6 separate regions of the Homo sapiens genome follow, and regions 1, 2, 3, 4 and 6 are each linked to region 5. Evidence: promoter capture Hi-C in 16 types of primary human blood cells and fetal thymus (Javierre and others, 2016). All regions are on one chromosome and are shown on one strand. The core of a region is centred on a gene start or on the middle of the fragment in contact, and the rest is flanking DNA. Distances in the headings are between cores, read along the strand shown. Region 1 overlaps SETD1A (SET domain containing 1A, histone lysine methyltransferase). Region 2 has its middle 8.0 kb from the start of ITGAX. Region 3 overlaps ITGAX (integrin subunit alpha X). Region 4 overlaps ITGAM (integrin subunit alpha M). Region 5 holds the start of PRSS8 (serine protease 8). Region 6 overlaps ITGAM (integrin subunit alpha M).

Region 1 (2,984 bases), core at 1-2,500, 170 kb before region 5:
GGCACCCCCTGCTCCCAGGACACAAGCTTCTCCAGCAGCCGACAAGATACCCCATCTTCCTTTGGCCAGTTCACACCTCAGTCCTCCCAAGGAACCCCCTACACGTCTCGGGGCAGCACCCCCTACTCTCAGGACTCTGCCTACTCCAGCAGGTACAGAGCAGACCCCGCCTGGGGCCCCGCCCGCAAAGTCTGGGAGCTGCCACTGGGAAGAAGATGCCCAGAGTCTGTCTCCAAGAGGGAGTTGGAAATAATTTGTCCTAGTTTCTCTGTGGATTCAGTCAACAAATTGCTGTCCTCGGGGAACACACTAGCTAGGAACCCAACATATAGCTCTTCTTTTGGAGGGCAGCATAGAGGGGCTTTGGGCCCTGGGACCCAGTACGCTGTGGTTTGGTCATAGAGAGCTGAGTCCAGCTAACTCCCCTGCTTCTTCTCCAGCACCACTTCAACCTCCTTCAAGCCCCGGCGGTCAGAGAACAGCTACCAAGATGCCTTTTCCCGCCGCCACTTCTCTGCATCTTCAGCCTCCACAACCGCCTCCACGGCCATCGCCGCCACCACTGCAGCCACTGCCTCATCCTCCGCCTCTTCCTCCTCATTGTCCTCGTCCTCCTCGTCATCCTCTTCCTCCTCGTCCTCTCAGTTTCGTAGTTCTGATGCAAACTACCCAGCGTATTATGAAAGCTGGAATCGCTACCAGCGCCATACTTCCTACCCACCACGCCGGGCCACACGGGAGGAACCCCCTGGAGCCCCTTTTGCTGAAAATACAGCTGAGCGCTTCCCACCTTCTTACACCTCCTACCTGCCCCCCGAGCCCAGCCGGCCCACCGACCAGGACTACCGGCCTCCTGCCTCAGAGGCTCCACCCCCGGAGCCTCCAGAACCTGGTGGAGGCGGGGGTGGAGGAGGGCCCAGCCCTGAGAGAGAAGAAGTTCGGACTTCCCCCCGCCCAGCCTCCCCTGCCCGCTCTGGCTCCCCAGCCCCGGAGACCACCAATGAGAGTGTGCCCTTCGCCCAGCACAGCAGCCTGGATTCCCGCATCGAGATGCTGCTGAAGGAGCAGCGCTCCAAGTTTTCCTTCTTGGCCTCTGACACAGAGGAGGAGGAAGAGAACAGCAGCATGGTCCTTGGGGCCAGAGATACAGGGAGTGAGGTGCCTTCTGGGTCAGGGCATGGGCCCTGCACACCCCCTCCGGCCCCAGCTAATTTTGAGGATGTGGCACCTACAGGGAGCGGGGAGCCAGGGGCTACCCGGGAGTCTCCCAAGGCAAATGGACAGAACCAGGTGAGGTTGGGGTCAGCCAGAGGAGGCACCTGGGCTCTGGGAGTCAGGGTTGGGCCTAGGGGAGAGGGAAGGGAACCAGATGAGAAAGTAGGGCTTGGGTCAGGCAGAAGCCTTCTGTGACCCTCTTCTGCCCCCGCAGGCTTCTCCATGCTCTTCTGGAGACGACATGGAGATCTCCGACGACGACCGGGGTGGCTCACCCCCTCCGGCCCCGACGCCCCCTCAGCAGCCTCCGCCACCTCCCCCTCCCCCGCCGCCTCCTCCTCCCTACCTGGCGTCCCTTCCTCTTGGTTATCCTCCCCACCAACCTGCCTACCTCCTCCCACCCAGACCTGATGGGCCGCCGCCCCCTGAGTACCCCCCACCTCCTCCACCACCCCCGCACATCTATGACTTTGTGAACTCCTTGGAGCTCATGGACCGACTTGGGGCTCAGTGGGGAGGGATGCCCATGTCCTTCCAGATGCAGACCCAGATGTTAACTCGGCTCCATCAGCTGCGGCAGGGCAAGGGATTGATTGCCGCCTCAGCTGGCCCCCCCGGTGGGGCCTTTGGGGAGGCCTTCCTCCCGTTTCCACCCCCGCAGGAGGCAGCCTACGGCTTGCCGTATGCTCTATATGCACAGGGGCAGGAGGGCAGAGGGGCATACTCACGGGAGGCCTACCACCTGCCCATGCCAATGGCAGCCGAGCCCCTGCCCTCCTCCTCAGTCTCGGGAGAGGAGGCCCGGCTGCCACCCAGGGAAGAAGCAGAGCTGGCAGAGGGCAAGACCCTCCCGACAGCAGGCACCGTGGGCCGTGTGCTCGCCATGCTGGTCCAGGAGATGAAGAGCATCATGCAGCGAGACCTCAACCGCAAGATGGTGGAGAACGTGGCCTTCGGAGCCTTTGACCAGTGGTGGGAGAGCAAGGAGGAGAAGGCCAAGGTGAGGCCAGCGCCTGGGACCGGGGAGCCCTGGGCTTTGCAGGAGGAAATGGGCCTCTGGCTCCTCCAGGCTGCACAGCTCAGAGGAGACAGGTGATGGAGGCGAGTGGAGAGAGGCCGCAGGCCCTGCAGGCCACCCTGGGTGGGCAGGGGAGTTGAGGGGACAGAGAAGCAGGCACAGATGGGCCTGGGAGGCAGCAGAGCTTTGTCCTGGCTCCATTCCTTGCTGGCTTGCAGTGGACAAGGCCCTTAGCTCTCTTCAAGCTTTGGTCTTCCATTTTGCCACTTGTGAAGTGGGAATGGTGGCTATTTCTTAAGACTGGTGGGCGAAATGACAGACTTTTGAGAAAATGCCGTGCGGGGGCTGGGACAGGTGTGACCAAGATATGGAGCAGCAAGTAGATGCGTTCTGTATTCCTGGGGTCCGGGAGTAGGTCTCAGGCAGGAGGGAATGCCTGGGTTCTGGGCGCTGGGGCTCAGCCCCACTGCTGCCTGCAGCCATTCCAGAACGCGGCCAAGCAGCAAGCCAAGGAGGAGGATAAAGAGAAGACGAAGCTGAAGGAGCCTGGCCTGCTGTCCCTCGTGGACTGGGCCAAGAGCGGGGGCACTACGGGCATCGAGGCTTTCGCCTTTGGGTCAGGGCTGAGAGGGGCCCTGCGGCTGCCTTCATTCAAGGTACTCAGAACTGTCGTTTTGTGGGGTAGGGTGGGGAGAGGGAGAGGGGGCCCCCTTCCTTGGGGTAGGGGTGGTCAGGAACCATGAGTGTTTGA
Region 2 (2,843 bases), core at 173-2,672, 210 kb after region 5:
GGTTCAAGCAATTCTCCTTCCTCAGCTTCCTGAGTAGCTGGGATTATAGGCACCCGCTACCACGCCTGGCTAATTTTTGTATTTTTAGTAGAGACGGGGTTTCACCATGTTGGTCAGGCTGGTCTTGAACTCCTGACCTCGTGATTTGCCCACCTCAGCCTCCCAAAGTGCTGGCATTGCAGGTGTGAGCCACCGTGCCCAGCCAGTACTAGCCTAATTTTTAAATTTTTGTAAAGTCAGGGTCTTGCTGTGTTGCCCAGGCTGGTCTTGAGCTCCTGAGCTCAAGTGATCCTCCTGCTTCTGCCTCCCAAAGTGCTGGGATTACAGGCATGAGCCACCGCACCTGGCATACTTCACATTTTCTAGAGTCCAAGAGACTGAATATACAAAGGGATAGTGGTCAGACTAGACATAAAAATAGACATCTGCCCCCCAGCCTGCAGCAACCAGCCCAGGAAGCCTATCAATAACTAACAATCAGCCCCATGTCCAGGACTTAATCAATAACTGATGGCTTCCCTAATTTTTGTCCCTACTTCCAACTTAGGACCAACCAGACAAAGCCAAATATGTCCCCTAGTCAATTGCACAGGATGCCCGCTTCCAGTGAGCCACATACAGCTTCCCAGGCCAGCAGCTTCTACTTGGGGCATCCCTGAAGACTTCCCAGTTTCCACTACAAAGCTTTCCTACTGTACTGCCCATTTTTGAGTCTCTGCCAAAACACCAGTGATGGCCACTGACTCCCTTGCTAGAGCCAGCTTTGAATAAATAGACTTCGCCTGTTCTCATTTGGTTGGTCTTTGTGTCTTTCCGCAATCCTCTGGTCCAGCTACTGTGATAAATAGATCAATAGAGCAATTTCCTTTCTGCTTCCTCTGTGGGCATTCCCATCTTGGCGCAGACTTGAACAATTGCTAAAATCCTTCCCCTTATCTGCCCCCTATGCCCCACTGCCATTAAAGGATAAGATCCCTCTGCAGGCTGGGCTGAGTGAATGTGAACGGAATGCATTGGTTGCCAAGTTCTGCCATATACGCATTTGCCTGTTGAGACCAATCCTGCTACCATGCCAGGGCCAGGAGAGAGAAGCTGAGTGGGATGACCCTGCCTTACTCCTCCTCTTTGGAATTCTCCCTCTCTTAATTCACACAGGCATCTCCAGCCCAGCCCCTCCCAGGCACGGCCCCACTGGTTCAAGTTCTCACAGAGACCCTGGATTTCTGCCCTGTTCTGTTCTCTCACCCCACCTTCCTAGGGATTCTCTCACTCCCTCCTTTTACCCTAAAAAGGGATTAAGATGAAATCATTCTGTGGTCACTAGATGTTGTCTGTGCCTGAGACTGAGCGTGGATCCGTTTCAGAGGCCTGCTGGGTTCCCCTACACATGGAAATAAAGAAAAATCTTGAGTTTCTTCAAGGAGAATTCCAGGCACCTTGCTAATCTGGAGAAGTATATGAGCAGCCCGGTAAGCAAGAAGATAACAGTCACTTCAAACAATAGCCAAGGAAGTGAGAGCCACAAGATGTGTGGTTCCCCAGAAAACCAAGGGTTTTAACGTACATCCCTGAGTTGTTTTTCAGAAACCTGGACCCCCACTGTATTAGTCCGTTCTTGCATTGCTACAAAGAACTTCCTGAGACCGGGTAATTTATAAAGAAAGGAGATTTAATTGGCTAATGGTTCCTCAGGCATTATAAGAAGCATGGATGGGGAGGCCTCAGGAAACTTACAGTCATGGTGGAAGGCGAAGAGGAAGGAGTCATGTCTTACACGGCTGGAGAAGGAAAGAAGACAGACCAGGGCGAGGTGCTACACACTTTTAAACAACCAGATCTTGTGATGACTCACTCACTATCACGAGAACAGCAAGGGAGAAATCCGCACCCATGGTCCAATCACCTCCCACCAGGCCCCTCCTCCAACACTGCAGATTATAATCCAACATGAGATTTGAGTGGGGACACAAATCCAAACCATATCACCCCCAGATGGAAAATGCCATCTGCTGGTATGTAGGCCACTGATAAGGAGGAAGTGAAGACTGAACTCTGATCACTATTCTTTGCTCTAAATTTCTTCCTGAGGGCCCTGGAGAGACAGTCACTCCCATAGGCCAGACCTTAATATTCCTTCCTGCTGACCCCAAGTTTTTAGATGAAGCTTTCCTTCCTTAACCAATTGCAAATCAAAGAATCTTTGAACCCATGTATGACTTGTAAGCCTTGCTTCAAGATATCCTGGCTTTTTAGGCCAAACTAATGTATAACCTCCAGGTATTGGTTTATGATTTTGCCTGTAACTTCTGCTTTCCTGAAATGTACCTCGCCCTTAAAAACTCTTGCTTGGAGGGTTAACATTGGGTTAACACCAATTTCTCAGTTGCTGTGTTGATGCTCAAGGCTCACAAGTGCCCCCAATCTCTGGGGAATGGTCTTGCCTGCAGGGGAGTAGCCCCTTCTTCTGTGTGGCAGTGGGATAAGCTAGAGGAAGTGGGGAAGAATGGCTGGTGGTCAATGACTGACCCACCCGGGGAGAACCAAGGGCCACACTTCAGCCTCAAGGAAGGACCCATTCATGCTCACAGCTTCCGGGGACCAGGCTGGAGTCAGGGTCAGGGGAGAGCTCCTTGTCACTTAGCCTCTTTCCCCACTCTATCCTGCTTTCTTCTCCTTGTCTCTCCAATGATGGGCATTGGACACTGAGCAGATACAACCAGGGGTCAGTTCCTGTCTGTGGGTGTAGGACGGATGGGTGATGGGAGGGTGGATGGGTTTGTGTGTGGACAAGTGGACGGATGGAAGGATGGGGTGGAGGGTGGATGGGCAGATGGGTGGGTGGA
Region 3 (2,749 bases), core at 129-2,628, 240 kb after region 5:
AGCAGTCCTCCTATCTTAGCTTCCCAAAGTGTTGGAGTTACAGACATGAGCCACTGTGCCTGACCTGCTAAAGTATTTTAAAACAAATCTCAGACATGGGGGTCATTGTACTCCTCCTTATTCACTCTGCTATGGTTTGAATGCATCACCCAATGTTCGTGTGTTGGACACTTAATCCCCAATGCAACAGTGTTGAAAGGTGAAACCTTTTAAAGGTGATTAGGTTATGAGGGCTTTGCCCTCATGAATGGATGAATACTATTATCTCAAGAGTAGATTAGTTATTTCAGGAGTGGGTTTCCTTCCTTCCTTTCTTCTTTCTTTTTCTTTCTTTCTTTTCCTTCTTTCTTTCTTTCCTTGAGAGGGTCTTGCTCTGTTGCCCAGGCTAGGGTGCAGTGGCACGATCTTGGCTCACTGCAGCCTCTGCCTCCCGAATTCAAGCAATTCTTGTGCCTCAGCCTCCTGAGTAGCTGGGATTACAGGTGCCCACTGCCACGCCCAGCTAAGTTTTGCATTTTTAGTAGAGATGGGGTTTCACCATGTTGGGCAGTCTGGTCTTGAACTCCTGACCTCAAATGATCCACCCGATTCGGCCTCCCAAAGTACTAGGATTACAGGCGTAAGCCACGGAGCCTAGCCCAGGAGTGGGTTTCTAATTAAAGGATGAGTTTGGCCCCCTTTCCCTCTCACTCTCACATGCACTGCCTTGCACATGCAGCACAAAGGCCCTCACCAGATGCTGGTGCCATGTTCTTGGACTTCCCAGCCTCCAGAACCACAAAGCTTCTATTGATACATTACCTAGTTTGCGGTAATCTGTTATAGCAGCAGGGAACAGACAAAGACACACTCTATAGTTCTGAACAATGAGGACCTCTTATATGACCTCAACACCATTATCACACCCAATGAAATAAGTGATTCCTTGGTATTAAGATCATAGTCAAAATTGTGTAACTGTCTCAAAAATATCTTTTTACTTCTGGTCTATTTGAACGAAAATTCGAACTAGGTCCATACATGATGGTTGGTTGTTATTTCTGCTGTCTCTCTTAGTCTAATATTCCCAGCGGAAGCGCATTTTGATTAACGTATAAAAGAACACAGCAGGAAAGGCCATCTCTTGCATGTGAGGGGTGATCACTGTCAATGAAAGTGCTCCTAGACATATCAACCAAATGTAATGGGTGGACCTTTGCTGAATATTGATTTTAACAAATGAGCTGTAAAATAACATTTTTGGAGACAATCTAAGAAAATAGAACATGACCAGTATATTGGTATATTAAGGAGTAATTGTTAATTTTGTTGGCTGTGATTTGTTGGTTCTTGTGGTTACATTTAAAATACCCTTATCTATTGGTGGTATACACTGAAGTATTTCTAGATGAAACAATATGGTGTTTGGAATGTGCTTTAAAGTGTTCAGAAAGAGAACATAGCAGAAACAAGAGTAGAAAAATGTTGGTTACTTAAAATGAGTGATGGTTATATGGGGTTGATTTTCCAGTCTCTCTATTTTTTAATGTGTTTTAAATTTTCCATTATAAGAGGCCTTTAAAATAACAATAAAAAGGTGAACATTTTAATACATTTGAGATTTCTACTTTGGAAGAAAGTTTGACCAGATAGCTATGGGGGAGCTTTTAAAAACGTAACCTTGGCTGGACATGGTGGCTCATACCTGTAATCCTAGTGTTTTGGGGGGACAAGATGGGAGGATTGCTTGAGGCCAGGAGTTCAAGACCAGCCTGGGCAATATAGCGAGGTCCCATTTATAAAAAAATTTTTTTAAAATTAGCCAGGCATGGTGGTGGTGTGTGCCTGTAGTCCTAGCTACTCAGGAGGCTGAGGCAAGAGGATGGCTTGAGGCCAGAGTTTGAGGCTGCAGTGAGCTGTGATTGCATCACTGCTTTCTAGCCTGGGTGACAGAGTGAGACCTGGTCTCAAAAAACAAACAAACAAACAAAAACATAAGCTTAAGGTGGGCTCCAGGAAGCTTTATCACTACTTCGTGGCGTGTCTTTGGAATGCTGTTATATTAGGTTGGTGCAAAAGTAATTGGGTTTTTGCCATTGCTTTCAATTTCAACTAATACTCCTCTACTTTTTCTCATGCCTAGAAACAAGGGCAGCTGCGTTCCCTGCACCTGACATGTGACAGCGCCCCAGTTGGGAGCCAGGGCACCTGGAGCACCAGCTGCAGAATCAACCACCTCATCTTCCGTGGCGGCGCCCAGGTCAGCCTGGCTTCTGTCCCCTCACTGCTCCCCTGCCCCACCCTGTCTTTACTGCTCTGTGACCTCTCAGTTCCTTTTCCTCAGATCACCTTCTTGGCTACCTTTGACGTCTCCCCCAAGGCTGTCCTGGGAGACCGGCTGCTTCTGACAGCCAATGTGAGCAGGTGAGCCGGGCCAGGCCAGGGGCAGTGCCCCTCATCTCCAGCCTCACACCCCATTCTCCTCCTCTGGGGCCTCTGGCAACTGAGTCTCTCCTCTTTCTCCAGTGAGAACAACACTCCCAGGACCAGCAAGACCACCTTCCAGCTGGAGCTCCCGGTGAAGTATGCTGTCTACACTGTGGTTAGCAGGTCAGCAGGTACCCCACTGCAGGAAAAAGGGTTCTTCTCTCTGACCTCAAAAAGAAAAAAAAAAAAAGGCCTTGAAACGCTGCCACAGAGGGTGAGATAAGGTGTTTGAAACTAAAAGGTCAGGTGTTTCAGCAGACACCTTCCTTCAGCCAATGCCTTC
Region 4 (2,747 bases), core at 75-2,574, 130 kb after region 5:
ACCGCTGTGTCTCCATCGCCGTCACATACGTTTGTCCCTGTAGTGCTGTTTCCATCAAACGGCATTCCTGGATTCTGCCAGAATCCTTTTGAGGCCCTTGTCCCATATATCAGTAGGAGTCTCAACTGGGACCAAAAGCACATTCCAGTAATGTAACTGCCCAAGGGGTTCACCTTGCTTGCTGCCTAGACAGAGCCGATTCATCAAGACAGCAGAATTGCGATAGAGAAAGAATAATTCACACAGAGCCAGCTATGCAGGGGACCAGAGTTTTATTATCACTCGAATCAGTCTCCTCGAGCATTTGGGGGCAGAGTTTTTGAGGATAACTTGGTAGGTCGCGGGGGAAGCCAGTGAGCTGGGAGTGCTGATTGATCAGGGATGAAATCATCGGGAGTCGGAGCTGTCTTCTTGCGTTCAGTTGGTTCCTGGGTGGGGGCAGCAAGATCGGATGAACCAGTTTATTGATCTGGGCAGTGCCAGCTGATCCATCAAGTGCAAGGTCTGCAAAATATCTCAAGCACTGATTTTAGGAGCAGTTTAGGGAGGGTCAGAATCTTGTAGCCTCCAGCTGCATGACTCCTAAATCATAATTTCTCATCTTGTGGCTAACGTTAGTCCTACAAAGGCAATCTAGTCCCCAGGTAAGAAGGAGGTCTGCTTTGGGAAAGGGCTGTTACGATCTTTGTTTAAACTATAAACTATAAACTATAAACTAAGTGTCTCCCAAAGTTAGCTCAGCCTACACCCAGGAATGAACACGGACAGCTTGGAGGTTAGAAGCAAGATGGAATCAGTTAAGTTAGATCTCTTTCACTGTCTCAGTCATAATTTTGCAAAGGCGGTTTCAGTAAGATTTATTTACAAAGAGGGGGGTTTATTTATAAAGGGAGTAATTATAAAGCTGTGACAGGCCTAAGGGAGCCATCAGGGACTTTCCAAGCCCTGGGCAAGCAGGTCTGTTGCCACCCCTGGGTTTATGGGTTGAGGAGAGGGAGAGCTCACCAGGGTCTGGAGAGAGTCATGTGGAGCTGGCTTCCTTCTGAGGAACAGTTGGTCTTTTGTGAAGGACATAGCTGTCCCCAAACAACCTCAATGGGAGAACACCCGGACCTCACTGCCCTCCTCCCTCTAGTCTTCTGTTGAGCCCCCTCATCTGCCAAATCCAATGGGAATCCAGAGGGCAACAGAGTCCTGGTGATGGGGTCCCTGCAGGTTGACCTCCCAGGCCACAGAGCTGAGCGGCAATGGGTAGAAAGTGGATTTGGGGATGGGGCAGAAGGCAGAGGAGCACATTCCACATCACTTTATATGTGTGTGCCCTTCCCTTTTCTAGAATCTACTCCTTTTGTATATCTGGCAAATCCTTCCTTCCTTCCTTCCTTCCTTCCTCCTTTGCTTTCCTTTCCTTTCCTTTCCTTTCCTTTCCTTTCCTTTCCTTTCCTTTCCTTTTTTTCTTCCTTTCTTCCTTTTCTTCGAAGTCTTGCTCTGTGACCCAGGCTGGAGTGCAGTGGTGCGATCTCAGCTACTTTTTGTATTTTTAATAGAGATAGGGTTTCACCATGTCAGCCAGGCTGGTCTCAAACTCCTGATCTCAAGTGATCCACCTGCCTCAGCCTCCCAAAGTGCTGGGATTACAGGTGTGAGCCACCTCGCCCAGCTGGGCAAATTATTTCCTGTTCTTCAAGATTCAGTCAAACATCACCACATTCCCTGATTCCCTTGGGCAGAATTAACGAAAATTTTCCATACCACTTTGTCCTTGTTTATTTACTTATTTATTTATTTTTAAGAGACAGGGTCTTTCTCTGTGGCCCAGGCTGGAGTGCAATGGCGTGATCATAGCTCACTGAAGCCTCAACCTTTTGGGCTGAAGTGATCCCCCACCCTCAGCCTCCTGAGTAGCTGGGACTACAGGCATGTGCCAACATGCCTGACTAATTTTTAACGTGTGTGTGTGTATATATATATATATATATATATATATATATATATATATATATATGTTTTTAACGTGTGTATACATATATATATATACACACACGTTAAAAATTATATATATATTATACATAATTTATATATATATTTAACATCTATATTTTTTATAGAGACGGGGTCCTATATTCTCATTGTTCAGCAGAGGGCTGACATGCAAAAAAACCCAAAACACCAAGTGTCAAATTACTTGATTCATACTCTTTTCCCCTTCCCCAGGGTGTCCTCAAGAGGATAGTGACATTGCCTTCTTGATTGATGGCTCTGGTAGCATCATCCCACATGACTTTCGGCGGATGAAGGAGTTTGTCTCAACTGTGATGGAGCAATTAAAAAAGTCCAAAACCTTGGTGAGGGCCCAGGGGTAGGTTAGGGAAGAGCCCACACGGGGCTGGAAGATACATGGCAACCGGGCCACCATGTTCTCCTCCCAGTTCAACTGCAGACATTGCCAAATTGACGATCGATTATGGTTTGCCTTCCTGAGTCTCTTTTCTGCTCTGTTGGATGCAGCCTCAGCATTCTTTCAGCCTTTTATAAAGCGGGCAGCTCTAATTGTTAAGGTTGGCATGGGAGATGAAGCCCACGTGTCATTGCTGGCTGAGTTCTATTTTCATTTTTATTTCTTATTTTTTTGAGACAGAATCTCACTCTTTCTCTCAGGCTGGAGTGCAGTGGTGTGATCTTGGCTCACTGCAACCTCCGCCTCCCGGGTTCAAGCAATTCTCTTGCCTCAGCCTCCCGAGTAGCGG
Region 5 (2,790 bases), core at 132-2,631:
TGCATCCTCTCCACAGCCCCAGGAGACGGACATGACCAGCTTCATTTTAGAGGTGAGGAGTCTAAGGCTTAGAGAAGTGGGGGGACTTGGCCAATGACACACAGCCAGTGCATGGGGAAGCCAGGATTGAAAGCCGGTCTGACTCAGAGCTGGGTTGGGTGCCTTCCAAGAAAGGAGACCCTTGGTTTGGTTCCCTCAAAACCACCTCCAGGATGGGAACGGTGGCTCACACCTGTAATCCCAGCACTTTGAGAGGCCAAGGCAGGAGGATCGCTTGAGCCCAGGAGTTCAAGACCTGCCCGGCCAACATAGTGAGACCCACATCTCTACCAAACAAAAACAAAAACAAAAACAAAACACAACTAGCTGGGTGTGATGGCATGCACCTGTAGTCCCAGCCACTAGGGAGGCTGAGGTGGGGAGGTGGGAGGATCACGTGAGCCCGGGAGGCTGGATCACTGAGACTGCAGTGAGCTGCGATCGGGCCACTGCACTCCAGCCTGGGTGACGACAGACCCAGACCCTGTTTCAAAAGACAAAAACCAAACCAAAAAAACCACCTCGATTGCCCCACTTTGGGAGTCAGACGTGGATCTGAATCCCAGCTGCACCTTCACTGGCAGTGTGCCCTGGGCAAGTCCCTGCTTCTCTGCCCATAAGGTGAGGGCTAAAACCCCCCACTCTGGGAGCCCTAAGAGAATCTAGTTGGAAGGCAGCCCAGCTGAAGGCCAGGCACTGGTTAAACCCCAGGGGAATCCGATCCAAGTCACCTCCCCCTCCCCTCCTCCCTCTCCGAGGAAAGTCTCACCTTCTGCCCCTTCCGCTCCTAGAAAGAAAGAGAAAGAGGAGGGGTGAGTAGGGAAGACTCGGGTTCCCTGACCCCTTAGTACCCACCACTGCTCCAGAGGGCTGGCCCCTTCCCTGACAGAGCCAAGGTGGGAAAGAGAGGCCAAGAGCTAGGGAGGCCGGGGGTTTTCTTGGGCCCCAGACAAGGGCACACCCCAGAAAATGATCACGCCGGCTCCCTCCAGTGCATTGTCCCCACCCTGCCCCCACGTCCTCACTTACCTGTCCCCGACCGGAGTAATCCAAGATAGAGCAGAATGGCCACAGCCCCCAGCTGCCCAGGCCCCAGGACCCCCTTCTGGGCCATGGCCCAGGACAAGGGCCCCTGGGGCAGACTCCAGGCACGCAAGGTAGGAAGCCTTGGGGTGGTGTCGAAGGCAGGACCCAGATGTTGGCTCAGAGGGAAGGATCCCAGAATCCGGGCTGGAAAGGGGCAGCAAGTGTCCAAGGCTGGCCTCTAAGGCAGGGAGCGGCCGCAACGGGAGACGCCTGGAGTATCCGAAGCGAGCAGTGTGGACGAGTCACCAGCACCGTCTGGCCACGCAGGGTCCTCCCAGGAGTGGCTGCACCTACCTGCCCGCCCCTCCCCTGGCCCCGCCCACTGGCTGGGCTCCGCCAGCTCCTCTTGCCACCAAAGTCATGAGTCCTTTCAGAGCTGCAGGCCCGTGTGTGTGCATGTATGTGTCCGTGTGTATGTGTGTGCACATGCATAGGCCTTTTGTGTGTGTGTCCCGGTGTGTAGTGTGTATGTGGTGTGTGTGTATGCCTGTGTAGGCTGTGTGTGTCCTCTTATGTGGTGTGGTATGTGTGTGTGTGTGCATGTACAGGCTGTATGTGCACATGTGTAGGCTGTGTGTGTCCCTGTGTGTGTAGTGTGTGTGTCTGAGTGTGCGTGCATGCACGTGCATGTGGTTTGTGTGTGTGTGCAGTCTCCCTGGAATGTGACGACTCTCCTCCGCCTCAGGTCTTTCAGGTTATCTCAGGCCAGTTATGCCCCCCAGGGCCTGGCCCCAGCTTTTATTATCTGGAGCCACAGCCACTCCTCCCTTCTTCCCTCCCTCCTTAGGCTGGTTATGGGAGCTTAAGACACTATGGTCTGTCCCCTGCCAGGCCCTTTCTGCGATGCCTGCACCTCATGGGTGGTGGCGAGCTTGTGGAGCAGCACCAATCATCCCACAGACATTTCCTAAGTGCCTATGATGTTCCCAGGTGTCCAGGACAAAACAGGCACCAGCCCCGTCCCCCTTGAGCCCTGAGCTCATGGTGAAGTAGGGGTGACACACTTCAATCAAATAATCACAAACAGGCTGGCAAGGTGGCTAGTCGGCTTTGGGAGGCTGAGGCTGGAGCATCACTTGAAGCCAGGAGTTCCAGACCAGCCTGGGGAATATAGCGAGGCCTCATCTCTACAAAGAAATATAAAAATTAGGCAGGCATTGTGGCGCATGCCTATGGTTCCAGCTATTTGGGAGGCTGAGGCAGGAGGATTGCTTGAGCCCAGGAGTTCAACGAAGCATTGAGCTATGATCACGCCACTGCACTCCAGCCTGGGCAACAGAGGGAGACCCTGTCTTAAAAAAAAAAATTGCAATTACACAATAATTTCAAGCTAGGAATAGTGATGAAAAAGAATGGCGTGAGCACACCACAGCCTGGCAAAGGCTGGCATTGTGAAAGGGTCCTCGAGGAATTGCCTTGGAAACTGAGACCGAAAGGGATTATAAAAGGTGGTAAGGCGAAGATGGGGGGATGGGGTGCAGAGGGCAGAGGCTCAGGGAAAGAAGGCTTGCCGTGTGGCTGCGGTGGGAGTGAGGCATGTATCCTCCTTGAGGGCCACTCTGGCCGTTCAAAACACCTGTTGAGGCTGGGTGTGGTGGCTCACGCCTCTAATCTCGGCACTTTGGGAGGCCAAGGCACACGAATCACGAGGTCAGGAGTTTGAGA
Region 6 (2,988 bases), core at 273-2,772, 160 kb after region 5:
TCCATTGATTACTCTCCTCTCCTCCACCTGGCTGCACTGAGGGCCCTGGAAGGCACTGTATCTCTATTACCCAGCTGTGTGCTTAGCAATAAGAAACACTTGTTTGTTGAATGAATGAATAAATGAATGAATGAATGTATGATTAAATAGGTGAATTTTATGGATGAATTCTACATATTGACCTTGAAGATATTTCTTAATATCACAACAAATATTCAAATAACAAATAGTTATTTTTAATCTAAGCCAGTTATTAGCCTTATTAGTCAGAGTGCCAACTTTGACTTTTTACCTCCCTAAAGATTCCCAATATATTGAAAGGGTGGTATTCTGTCTTCTCTTCTAGAATTTTCTATGTATTTTCCAACCCAAATTCTTCTTTGCTGCCTTAATAATCTCCCAGGAATACCACCTGGAGTAAATCCTCACTCACTGCCCATTGACTCTACTATAGGCTTATTTTTTATCTTTTAAATTATTAAAAAATATATATATACACTTAGAGATTGGGATCTTGCTCTGTTGCCCAAGCTGGAGTGCAGTGGTGACAAAGCTCACTGCAGCCTTAAACTCCTTGGCTCAAGGGATCCTCCCACTTCAGCCCCCCGAGGAGCTGGGATTACAGGCAGAAACCATTCTGCCAGGCTTATTATATAGGTTCCTTTAGCTGGCAGCACATTCAAGTGATAATTTATCATGAACCATATAGAAGATCACATCTGCTCCAGAGGGATTCCCCCAGCAGGCATAACTTTTCTTCAGAGAGAGAAAACCTCCACATCTGCTTTAGGTGGGAAGAGGTGTGTGATTACGGTCCTGTCTCTTTCAGATCGGCGCCTACTTCGGGGCCTCCCTCTGCTCCGTGGACGTGGACAGCAACGGCAGCACCGACCTGGTCCTCATCGGGGCCCCCCATTACTACGAGCAGACCCGAGGGGGCCAGGTGTCCGTGTGCCCCTTGCCCAGGGGGGTGAGTGGCAATGGGACCTGGGCTGGGTGGGGCCCGGTGTGGGTGGAGGGGTCGCCTGGGTTGGGGCCTGATACTGTTTGTGTTTAGCAGAGGGCTCGGTGGCAGTGTGATGCTGTTCTCTACGGGGAGCAGGGCCAACCCTGGGGCCGCTTTGGGGCAGCCCTAACAGTGCTGGGGGACGTAAATGGGGACAAGCTGACGGACGTGGCCATTGGGGCCCCAGGAGAGGAGGACAACCGGGGTGCTGTTTACCTGTTTCACGGAACCTCAGGATCTGGCATCAGCCCCTCCCATAGCCAGGTGAGACCTGGTCACTGTCCTTGTCATGACAGTAGCCTCTTTGTTGATCTTTCTCCTAATTCAGTGTGCCCACAGCTGCCAGATAAGTTCTCACAGTACTCCTTTCAGAACCTTCAAAAATAATAACATGTGGCTGGGCCTGGTGGCTGACGCCTGTAATCCCAGCACTTTGGAAGGCTGAGTTGGGAGGATTGTTTAAGCCCAGGAGCTCAAGACCAGTCAGGGCAACATGGTGAGAACCCATCTCTCCAAAAAAAAAAAAAAAAAAAAAAAATTAGCCAGGTGTGGTGGCATACACCCATGGTCCCAGCTACTCTGGAGGCTGAGGCCGGAGGATTACTTGAGCCTGGGAGGTTGAGGCTGCAGTGAGTCCTGGTCACACCACTGTACTCCAGCAGCCAGAGTGACAGAGTCAGACTTGCACATGCATGCGTGCACGTGCACACACACACACACATTCACAGAAATCTCAAAGACTCTTAGTTCCAGATTGATTATTTCTACAGCAATAGGAGGTGCATGATAGCCTCATCACCCCCACTTTACAGATGAGTAGATCAAGGCCCAGCGATGGCAAATGGCAAGCTAGCAGTATTGGGATGCAGGCATTCCTTTCTTCTGAATCTCGGTCCTGGTAAGGTGACCAAGAGCTCTAGTTTGCTTAACTCTGTCCCAGATTTAGTACTGAAATCCCACATCCTGGGAAACCTATGCGGTTGGCCACCTTACGGGATTGCACACTTCACAGATGTGGAATTGTGCAGTCACACGTGCCCCTCTCTCAGAATCGCCCTGTGCTTGGCTTAATGCTCTGCTATTGCCATCTTCAATTCTTAGTAATTTTTCAACAAGGGGTCCTACGTTTTTTTGCATTGGGTCTTGCAAAGCATGGAGCCCATCCTGATGACTTGTCACCCTATATTCTGGACCTGACAACTGTTTTGCTCTGTAAGTTGGCTTTCTGTCTCCTGCCAGGTGGAGCCCACTGTCTGGAGGGACCCTTACAGTCTGGTTCCATCTTCCCTGTTCATATTCTTTCCCACCATAGCCACCTGAGACCATCTAGTTTTCTGGCCTCTGGTCTCTGGGTTTTTGCTAGCCTTACATTTTTCTTTCTTTATGTTTAAAAATTTTTTTATTGTGGTAAGGGCACTTAACATGAGACCTATCCTCTTAACAGATTTTAAAATGTACAATGTAATACTGTCATCTATTGGTGCAATGTTGTACAGCAGACCTCTTGAACTTCATCTTGCATATTGAAAATGTATACCCATTGATTAGCAACTCCTCATTGTTCTCTAGCCTCTGGCAGCCACCATTATATTCTTTGCTTCAATGAGTTTGGCTGTTTTATTTTTTTTTAGTTTTTGAGACAAAAGTTTCAGTCTGTCGCCCAGGCTGGAGTGCAGTGGCACAATCTCGGCTCACTGCAACCTTACCTCCTGGGTTCAAGCGATTCTCCTCTCTCAGCCTCCTGAGTAGCTGGGATTACAAGCATGCACCACCATGCCTGGCTAATTTTTGTATTTTTTGTAGAGACTGGGTTTTGCCATGTTGTCCAGGCTGGTCTTGAGCTCCCGGACTCAAGTGATCCACCTGCCTTGGCCTCCCAAAGTGCTGGGATTACAGGTGTGAGCCACCGCACCCTGCCAGTTTGGCTATTTTAGATAACTCATATAAGTGAAACCACGCCGTATTCATCCTTTGGTGACTGG

What was found. The method cuts DNA at HindIII sites, captures the fragments that hold promoters and counts their contacts. A CHiCAGO score of 5 or more calls a contact.
Region 1: a contact is called between a fragment that was not itself captured here and the fragment with the promoter of PRSS8 in region 5, in 16 of 17 cell types (M0 macrophages, neutrophils, M1 macrophages and 13 more). The highest score is 12.7, in M0 macrophages.
Region 2: a contact is called between a fragment that was not itself captured here and the fragment with the promoter of PRSS8 in region 5, in 13 of 17 cell types (M0 macrophages, M1 macrophages, M2 macrophages and 10 more). The highest score is 13.0, in M0 macrophages.
Region 3: a fragment that was not itself captured here is called in contact with the fragment with the promoter of PRSS8 in region 5 in 13 of 17 cell types (monocytes, total CD8 T cells, naive CD8 T cells and 10 more); the score reaches 13.5 in monocytes.
Region 4: a fragment that was not itself captured here is called in contact with the fragment with the promoter of PRSS8 in region 5 in 2 of 17 cell types (neutrophils and monocytes); the score reaches 5.7 in neutrophils.
Region 6: a fragment that was not itself captured here is called in contact with the fragment with the promoter of PRSS8 in region 5 in 3 of 17 cell types (monocytes, neutrophils and total B cells); the score reaches 8.0 in monocytes.

The regions. Positions count from the first base shown.
Region 1 is chr16:30,964,172-30,967,155 of GRCh38, forward strand. It overlaps SETD1A (SET domain containing 1A, histone lysine methyltransferase), which reads left to right. Exons shown (of 19, transcript NM_014712.3): 6 at 1-152; 7 at 441-1,290; 8 at 1,430-2,215; 9 at 2,713-2,889. Among named protein-coding and RNA genes, the nearest start is that of SETD1A, 7.9 kb to the left of the region's middle. The HindIII fragment of the contact is 2,452 bases long and covers 25-2,476 here.
Region 2 is chr16:31,345,710-31,348,552 of GRCh38, forward strand. No RefSeq gene overlaps it. Among named protein-coding and RNA genes, the nearest start is that of ITGAX, 8.0 kb to the right of the region's middle. The HindIII fragment of the contact is 1,480 bases long and covers 683-2,162 here.
Region 3 is chr16:31,374,677-31,377,425 of GRCh38, forward strand. ITGAX (integrin subunit alpha X) reads left to right here. Exons shown (of 30, transcript NM_000887.5): 21 at 2,123-2,239; 22 at 2,324-2,403; 23 at 2,506-2,589. Among named protein-coding and RNA genes, the nearest start is that of ITGAD, 17 kb to the right of the region's middle. The HindIII fragment of the contact is 1,195 bases long and covers 782-1,976 here.
Region 4 is chr16:31,268,740-31,271,486 of GRCh38, forward strand. ITGAM (integrin subunit alpha M) reads left to right here. Exons shown (of 30, transcript NM_000632.4): 6 at 2,215-2,345. Among named protein-coding and RNA genes, the nearest start is that of ITGAM, 10 kb to the left of the region's middle. RefSeq lists an enhancer at 2,543-2,747. The HindIII fragment of the contact is 3,863 bases long and covers 1-2,747 here.
Region 5 is chr16:31,134,346-31,137,135 of GRCh38, forward strand. PRSS8 (serine protease 8) reads right to left here and starts at 1,382. Exons shown (of 6, transcript NM_002773.5): 1 at 1,069-1,382; 2 at 809-826. The coding sequence starts at 1,153. RefSeq lists an enhancer at 1-443. The HindIII fragment of the contact is 17,481 bases long and covers 1-2,790 here.
Region 6 is chr16:31,296,685-31,299,672 of GRCh38, forward strand. It overlaps ITGAM (integrin subunit alpha M), which reads left to right. Exons shown (of 30, transcript NM_000632.4): 13 at 830-970; 14 at 1,061-1,270. Among named protein-coding and RNA genes, the nearest start is that of ITGAM, 38 kb to the left of the region's middle. The HindIII fragment of the contact is 4,791 bases long and covers 1-2,988 here.